2 separate regions of the Homo sapiens genome follow, and region 1 is linked to region 2. The links are contacts of gene promoters, found by promoter capture Hi-C in blood cells and fetal thymus (Javierre and others, 2016). All regions are on one chromosome and are shown on one strand. Each heading gives the region's core, a stretch centred on a gene start or on the middle of the fragment in contact. The rest is flanking DNA. Distances are from core to core; before and after follow the strand shown.

Evidence for each region. Contacts are between HindIII fragments. The CHiCAGO score rates a contact against its expected background, and 5 or more counts as called.
Region 1: a fragment that was not itself captured here is called in contact with the fragment with the promoter of CAMK2D in region 2 in 1 of 17 cell types (activated CD4 T cells); the score reaches 5.6 in activated CD4 T cells.

Annotation. Positions count from the first base shown.
Region 1 is chr4:114,021,520-114,026,151 of GRCh38, forward strand. It overlaps LOC105377376 (a long non-coding RNA gene), which reads right to left. Exons shown (of 3, transcript XR_939088.2): 3 at 1,847-1,950. Among named protein-coding and RNA genes, the nearest start is that of ARSJ, 44 kb to the left of the region's middle. The HindIII fragment of the contact is 1,475 bases long and covers 569-2,043 here.
Region 2 is chr4:113,759,450-113,764,051 of GRCh38, forward strand. It overlaps CAMK2D (calcium/calmodulin dependent protein kinase II delta), which reads right to left and starts at 2,289. Exons shown (of 21, transcript NM_001321571.2): 1 at 1,555-2,289. The coding sequence starts at 1,619. RefSeq lists a silencer at 2,076-2,485 and enhancers at 2,479-3,017, 3,018-3,556. The HindIII fragment of the contact is 14,700 bases long and covers 1-4,602 here.

The DNA of each region.
Region 1 (4,632 bases), core at 56-2,555, 260 kb after region 2:
GAATACTTGGTATATTATATGTATATAATCATATATATTACATATATATAATATATGTAATACGGCTAAAAGAATCTGCAGCTGCTGCTGTCTGCTGTCTGTCCCCAAAGCTGCTGCCATGGTAACCATACTACGCTCCCAAGCAAGTATGAGTGTTTCAGTTTCACGTATTTAGATATGCCCTTTGGGCCATTTTCAAGACACTGGCTTTTCATTTCCAAATATTAAAGCTGAAACTCTGAAGCAAGAAGACTTGTGATGAAGAATAAATGCTCATCAACTCTTTGGGATTGAAGCTTTGAATCCTGACCAGTGAGAAAGAGTTTGCAAATAAGAATTGGAGAGCTTTTGCTGGGCCAACAATTTTTAGTGTTAATTTGTGTGTGGCTGCTGTGCCTGTCTAAAGGGAGCATGTTCTTAAGCTACAAGCTGGACTTTCCTAGCAGCAGGTTGGGAAGAGTGATGATATGGAAAAATGTCCACATTGGAAGTTTTCTTGGTTACACACTTTCCAGAAGAAACTTAATTTCACAGAAGGCATTCTTGTTTCATCACTTCTTGTTTAAGAAGCTTGATGGAGATACTTGAGGTCTTAGAATCTTTTGTTAAATGGAGATAAAAAAAATACATACCTTTTAGTGTAGCTATGAAGATTAAGTAAAACAATATTTTTAAATGAATTAATGTAATGAACATGATGACACTAATAATAACTGTTATAGGCTAAATTGTATCCCCTCCAACTTCATATGTTGAAATCCTAACCCACAGTACCTCAGAATGAAGCTGTTTTGGAGATAAGGCTTTTACAGAGGTGATTACATTAAAATGGGAATGGTGATATGGGCCTTAATCTAAGTGATGCAGTTTTTGGTATTTTGTTATGGCAACCTTAGCAAACTAACCCAATAACTAACAGAGATGGAGAGCTTACTCTAGGTTTTATAATTGGTTCTATTTAATAGAAGAATTGCTAAATTAATTTAGAGACCATGGATGAAGATGCTGAAGGAAACATTCTTCCACCTTTGCCTTTAACTTCCCAATAGAACAGCTGTCACTTAGGCAATTTATTGTATCTGTATTATTGCAAGAACAAAGTAACTGAAAGGGTCCTTCACAATTTCTTTGTTACGTAACTTAGTTCTAAATGAAATATATTTAATTTTCAAATAAAATCTGGATTTTAAATTAATTTTGTATTCATTTTCTACCCATGAAAATGTTCCTTACAAATATTGTGATGTTTGAGTGTGGAGTGAGTGGAAACGTAAACCCATTTCAAAGAAGATATTTGTTTACTATATTCTTGCAAAGCATACTTTATATTGGCCCAACCTGAAAGATCTACTAGCTTTTGCTTCCTCTTTAAACAAGTGTAGTCAGTTTTACTTCCTCCCATTTTAATGTGTTTCTCTATTCTGGTGAATATGGATAAGTCTTTTCTTTCTTTTATGGTAAGTAGGAAGAAGTCTGAATCACAATTCAAAAGTCAAATTTAGTCTAAGTCAAAAATAGAAGGGGCACTAAATAAATAGGCATTTTATGATGTTCTAAGAATGCCATCAAAATTTCTGTTTAAGATTTCTGTGTGTATATGTTATATATGCATATGTATGTGATTATTAACAATATAACAGAAATAACCTGTATTGTATGTTGCTTATCTATCTATCTATCTATCATCTATCTATCTATCATCTATCTTCTATCTATCATCTTTTTTATCACATACATTTTAGCTTGGGACATAAATACAGGTTAGGTAATTAACTCTTAGCAAATTAATTAAAATGGGAATTCTTTTATTGAGGTCACATATATTTAAGTTTTAAAAACCACCTACCTGTTACTTTCAGTGTTGGTTTTTTTCCTTTAAAGATTAAGTGTAATTACCATTTGTAAATTAATTTTTAGGCGATTATTTGACTAGTAACTTGACTCTCTGACCTAGAAGAAAAAGGAGCAAAAGTCAGAAAACTCATTGAATATTGACTACAAACTGTGGTAATGCTAGATTTCCCAACAAAAATCAACTATGTAAGCTTTGGTTATATAGGTTAGTAATGCCTAGGGACAGCTTAAATTTGTAGTATGTGTACATTAGTTCATCTGAACTTTAATTAAATAAGGCATACTTTGTGTCTTGCTTATTTTGGCTTCTATTAGTTTCTTCATGACCATTCTAGGTTTTTTATCCCCATGGTCTACTAGTTTAAAAAAAAATGCTTGTTAAAACACGTTTAATCTCAAAATTGTATCATTTAAACCAAAGGACAACCATATTTTATAGACTATTCCAGTATTATATAAATTGTTATGATTTTGTCACATTTGCTGTGTATTTTATGAATAATGATGAGCACTTAATAAAATTATTTTTTTCTACCTCTGCATATTTGCTATATTAAAGTCAAGTACTTTTGCTTATACACCTGGGTGGAAGAAAAATTTTTCTGTGTTAAAAAACAGAAGAAACATTGAAATATTTGTTTTCAGATGGTAAAAAATACTGCTTGGAAATATAAATCAATATAAACAAATACTTTAAGATCTTCTAGGTGATGAATGCATAGTAAAAGTGTAGTATTTTCTTTTGAGGACATAAATGAATGATAATCATTTTTGAATGTAACTATCATAAATTAGACAATGCCTAAATTTTTGGTTTACCATTTTTAAAGGATCATGTGTGGGGCCTGCCACTTATACACATGCCTTATCTGGCAGATGCCTTTTTCAATTAGTACCTCATTTACAATATCATAAATGCAATGGTTTATTGATAAAAACTTTTAATAACCCCTTAATGGTAGTTGGGTCGCACACTGAGTCTTGTACTCCACAGGAAGACAGATTACCTTCACTGTTATTGAAAATATCTGACTTTAGAGTGTAAAAACATAAGATCTGCTCCTCTGATCTGTTTATTTTGAGGTGGGCTGTTAGATACTGACAGTGGTTATGGTGGTCCTATGGAAGGGGTGGTTTTTCTTTCTTGACATCATCCTCAAAAGTTGAGGACTTGCATCAAATCCCCCTCTCCTTTCCTCTCTTTCTTATTCACTCCATCCTGTCCTCGTAAATAGTATATACTAATGTCATTTTATAGATTCATCATACCTATAAAAAATATAAACCATGTAGTTATGGGAAGTAATTTATATTTATATTAATATGTTCCAAGTTTTCTGAGACAAGCAACTGTGTCCGATTAACTTTTGTCTCCTACCTGTGTCTCTTGTGTCTAATGTAAGCTTTGGTACCAATAGCAGATACTAAATATCTGTTGAGTGAATGACCGGCCTAAATATCCTTCTGAGATAAAGTGTTCCATCATGAGCTGTATGAGGTAATGATTAATTTGTTTTAAATTGATTCTTTTGAGTTTTAAACTATAACTTTTTAACCCAATATGCCAGCATAGATGAAAATATCTTATAGATACCATTTATATGTTCTTGGGAAACCTATAAATGTCTCAATATATTTGAAATTGTTCAGATTAAATTTCTCCCATCAAGAAGAATGGGCAAACACTGAGTTTAGTTGTGGAAAATTGAGTGGGCTATTAGTAGACCTGAACTTGTGATTTGAGAAATGTGTACCTTCACCTGCGGATAAAATGTAATATCTCATTTTGTAGACTTACTAGGTACTTGTAACAATGAGTTAAATATGTATGATATACTTTCTAGCAAAGTTGCTATGTAGTTAAATAACAAGAATGGTGCAGACCATTAGTTTAATAGGAATTCAAACACTGTGGTCTAGAAAGGTGAGTAAAGTTTCACTTCAGGAAGTGAAACCTGAGAAAGGCTGTGAAAAATACGTGCCAGCTGAAGGGACATTATATGGTTCAAAGTCCTAGGAAGCTGCTAGCAGCGTGTGAGTGCTAGCACCCTGCCCCTCGCCTTGGGGAATTGTTGCCTATGCATAGTCACATTAGTCCAAGCCTTGTGGAACTTCTATCTAATAAGCTTCTATACCATCAAGGGTAATATTTTTGTACAAGATGAATAGTTCTAGATGCTCTACTTCCTCTGAGAGTTGGATCAATAGTCCTGCATTGCTTAGTCATAGCTAGACATTTGACTACAAGAACATCTATCTTCACAAAACTCATCCCTATACGGTTCTGCCCAGCCCTTAATTTGATCCTCTCACTTCCATCATATTTCTCTTGTTCTTCGTAACAAAACCACCTCAAATGTGTCATCTTTTCTAGGAACATTTCCTTATATTCTTGCTTTATCAAAAAACTGCCTGTCCCTTTTTATTGTCAGCTCAACTTGGCCCTCTCAAAAGAAAGTTGTTCTTTCTCGTAGTGATTACATGAGGTATGACAGGGTTGACTTGTCTTCTTTGATTTTGGTTTGCAATATTAGCTCTTTATCCATCTCCCTCCTGCAAATGCCTACCACCGTTCTTGATGCATATGCCTCCTCTATCTTTTTGTTACTGTTGTCTATTTACCTATGTATTAAGGCCCTTTTATTCAAGCATATAGATTTCTAAATTCTGTACAGTATATTTATTTGTGACTTCAGCATCCACATAAATAAAACATGTAAAATGGAGGCTTTTTGGTTCTTTCATCTTCTCATCTCCCAATTTTTTTTCATTCCTAGC
Region 2 (4,602 bases), core at 1,039-3,538:
AGATATAATATTTCATTAAAAATTTATAAAATCTGAGCATTTTTATTGATTTTAGTGGATTGCCAGTGAAGTACAGTAATATCCAGTAAATGAACAATTCTTCCTGGAAACCCAGACTTTCTTTAATGTTGAAGAATAAAAGTAAATTTTATTTAACTGGGAGCACACATTATTAATCAACAAAATGAAAGGAACTGCCAATTATGACCGCTCTTGTTTGCACAAGAAATTTGAAAACATTTTACAGTTCACACTCACAGCACCAAATGCTCTGAGAAAAACCCTGCACAGAACAGAGCAGACGAGGAGCAGCAAAAAAATCTGCTGCCTACTTATTTTGGTAGGAAACAAAAAATTAATGTGGTTCCAAGTAAGTAAACATGACGATTATTTTCATTAAAATATAAATCTTGAGCACATTAGTGTGGTTTAACAAATCCTGGTATGGTGATTTCTCTATGCCTTGTTTTGGACTGGGGGAGGGGAGAGATTTGAATTAAGCTGCTCTTCCGACATATTCTCCATGTTTTAACACCAGACAATATATACATATGTAATTTTTATTACTTTTAAAAATATTTACCTTTCCTTTAATTACAGTATAAACCAACAACATACATATAAACGCACTCCTTTCATAAAAGTAACAGTCGAAACTAGTGAAAGAGGAATTGGGTTTGGGTTCCATGCTACAAAAATCAGCATTCACGGCTTGGCCCCTAGGTCCCTTTGCATAAGTCCTCAGTAGGTCTCCTGCCTCCTTCCCTAACATCTCCAAGTAGTTCTGCCAGTCGGGTGAAGGAGGTGGTTTTACACAATGCTAGGCTACGCTTAAGAGCGCTCTCAGTCTCCAGAGGGCTTTTCCGTTGCCTGTATAAATAAATCCTCCCAGAGAACGCAAAGATGCACACGTAAATCCTAGGAAGAATGATGGTGAGCGGTAATCTGGTGCAAAGAACAACACTGGATATAGGGCAAGGGGTTGGGTTCTGTTGGGTGGCCCTTTTCCTGGACAGAACAACTACTGGATGCGAAATAGACTCTATGCCAAGTTGAACTTTCGGCATCAATAAATATGGCACCGTCTGAGGCTGTGAGTTCTCATCAGTACCTGGGTCATACGGCCGACACGCCGGCTAACCAGGAGGCATCTCTATTTACAGAAAACATGATCTATGTTGCATTTTACATGGGTTCTAATTTCCTCTCCAAACACACATTACACACAGGCGCGCGCGCACACTTCTCAGGATGATAGCTACAACTGCAGAGATCGTAAATTCACTAAGTCTCTCAGTGCAGGAGGGTGGGGGACCGGGAGAAGGTGGGCTAGGGACCATCAAAATGAGCCACAGTTGGAGTAAGGGTCCTACCCCTTCTGTGCTCCCTCCCTTTATTAAGACAGCACCTTCCCCAGAGCTGACAAACCAGGGGCCCTCCTCCCATTCCTCTCCCAAACTCCCTCGCCCCAAGACGGAGGCCGGTGGGTCGGGGGCAACGCGACCCGCCCTCAGCTGGAAAGGGGATATGCGGATGCCGGGCAAAGGTGCTTACTTTCCAAGCTCCTCGAAAAGCTGATACTCGTCCGTGAACCTGGTGCAGGTTGTGGTCGAAGCCATCCTCGGTCCGGGCTGTGCCCTGGCTGGGAGCGCGACGGACCAGAAGCGAGCAGACGCGCGGCTAACCCCGGGACTGGCCCCGCGGCGCTGTCACCCAGGGCCGCTCTTACTTTCCTGGTCCGAAAGTAGCTCGCCCGCGAGGGAGTGTGCGCAGGGGCGGGGCGGGAGGGGAGATGACCAGAAAGGGTGGCGTGGGGTCTCCTCCCCACAGTCCGCCGATCCTCCTCCTCCTGCGGGCCTCGCTTCCTTCTTCTCCACTGGACGCTCCACCCGCCCCTTTTCCAGTCCCTGTCCCCAAATGCAGGGGGTAAAGTACTCAAGAAGAGGGGGCCGGGAAATGGAAAAACAGCCAGGCACGGGACGAGTGGCAAGCAGTTGCGAAACGATCCGCACTGGAGCAGGAGGAGTAGAAGCAGAGGGGAGGGAGTCCGAGGGGGCGGAGGTGGAGTGCAGCGGGGCCGAGGCCGCGGAGCCCAGAGCGGACAGCCTGAGCCCAGCGGCCGCTGTCAGCAGGCTCAGGCGCGGGGCGCGCCGGGGCTCCGACGAGCGTGCGCGCCCGAGGCCGGCTTCCCTCCGGCGGGCGGCAGCGGCTCCGGCGAAGCGAGGCACCTTGGCGGCCTCGCGCTGCTCACGAGCCCGCGCGGCTTCAAGACGGCGCGGCGAGAGAAAGAGCGCTCGGCTCAGGCGAAGCCTCTTCTGCCGTCCCCAGGCCTCCGTCTCCTCCTCCGGCGCCTCCTCCCGCCGCTCCCTCCGCCTGCCAGCACCCCCTCCCTGGCGAAGCCCCCTCCTCGCTGGTCCCACACCTCCCTCTAGCGACTCCAAGCCTGTCCCTTCGTGGATCTCTCGCACTCCCTCCTTTGGTTGCACACACGAGCACACCAGTCTAGGGAGAAACCAGGTGGGTGGAGGAGGATGTGCGGGGGAGAAGACTGGAGGTTTGGGTGAATGAGGCGAGAAGTCACAGTTACCCATTTAAACCCGCACAGAGAAGGCTGCCTCAATCTGGGGCTGACTGAGCGGGAAGATGCAGGGCAACTCGAGGATGGCCCGGGGCAGCCGCCCTGGGTCGCGGAAGCCCACGCCCCTGTTTTGGGCGCCGGGCAGCAGGGACTTCTCCAGGCCGGTTCCCGGGCCACGACACCCGGTGGGCCGAGCAAGGGAGAGCAACCACTTCATCTCCACGCCGCTCAGAGTTGACACAGCAGGGGCCGGATGTGGGCTGTTCACTGCTCTCAGAGAAGGGTCCCAACCCTTCCCACAGCCACCAGCGACTGTCGGGGCAAAACCCAGCCTCAGCAGGGTTCACTGCGTCGCCAGCTCCCCAGAACCGGGCGCAGGTTTTCTCCCTCCCCCGCAGCCCCTTCTGCAAGGGGCAATGACGGCCCCTGAGCCACATTACACTTGCCACCTCCAGGCCCACCTCCCCCGCTGTTTTCCAGGATGGTGGCTGAGACTCTGGCAATCCCCAAAGGCCTTTGCTTTGGCTGTGAACGTTAAAAGAATGAAAGCAAAAACTCCGCCGCACAACCACACCTTCCCTTCCCTTCTGAGTAACTCCCCTGCAACCTCAGTAAGTTCTGATAGTAAGGCGAATTCTCGCGATATTTCCCACTCTGGCGGTCAGGGGGAGGTAGTAGGAAGGCTGGGTGTCGGTCACGCGACCCGGCGGGGGCTGACGTCATTCACATCACGTGAACACGTCTAGACTGTTTCGCTTTGCAAAGGGAAAAAAGAAAAGGGGCCGTCGTGTGTGCTTTTGCTTTCAGCCAGATAGTGGCAATTGAGTGCACTCCGTAAATGGCTATCTGGAAAAACCATTTAGCAGTTCAAGAATGTGTCCTTCCCTTTAGCATATCTGCCATTGTTTTCAGTAGGAGGAAAAAAAAAGTATGCATTACGATTTAAAATAGATAAACTGCTGCCGATTGCTAGAACAACTTCTGGGCCCTCTTTCCAGTTCTCCTTAATGAAACTATGCAATTGCAAATTTAGCCGCAGACCAAAAACAGCGTTATGGACGGTCTTTTTCAAATTACTGCCAATTGTTCTACAGCACGGGACTATAAAAACCTTGCAATCCTATTGCTAATTTGCTCGTGGTATTACTTCATAGACAAAATTTCACAGCTGAAAGATAAAAGATAATTTGCAGACACAAGAGAATCTAAGATTTAAAGGCGCTGCTGCTTGCTCCCAAAGACTGCTATTAATTAATGTTACTTTGTGGTCATAGATAATCCTAATTCCTTTTTTCCTGATCTGGGGAACGCTTCTGCCAATGAGTGAGCTTTTTACTGAAGTACTAAAAATGTTCACAAATTTTAACGTTTATTACAACAAAATTGAAGTTCGTATGTGTTTTGATTCCCAGCCGTAAAAGGCAAGAAATAACTGTGTAAAATGTAGTGCTATAGAAAAAGATGATACCAAGAACTGCATAAAAGAAACATGGTCTCTAAATATTAATAATTGGGCTATAAATTGAAAAAAAAAACACAATTTGGTCTTGGCTAAAGATTTGTAATATCTGAACTATTTAGCAATGTGGCTCCAAGGTGATAATGAAATAATTTAATATTTTTCCCTGAATCTAAGAATGAAACAGAAAAAGTAAAATTAAAACAATAAAGGTAATATAAAAATTTACATCTGGGAAGAAAATTGTTTCTTAAATATTCAAGTAATGAAGTCTACATAATTACAGTATTTATCTCAGTTATTTAAACTACCAATAATTGTAAATGGTTATAATTGTGGAGTACAATAAAGGAAACATAACTGAGTTTTAATACTGATGTATTATTAGACAATAAATGTGTACATTTTTTACAGCAAACACTGCTTAATCTGTACGTACCCTTTCTTTGATTTATATTTTAGACTAAATATTTCTCTTATTTGAACAAATATTTACAGTTATTTCTGAAGTTTGAACCTCCTTAAAAAGTAGTCAGATTAGCCGGGCGCAGTGGCTCACGCCTGT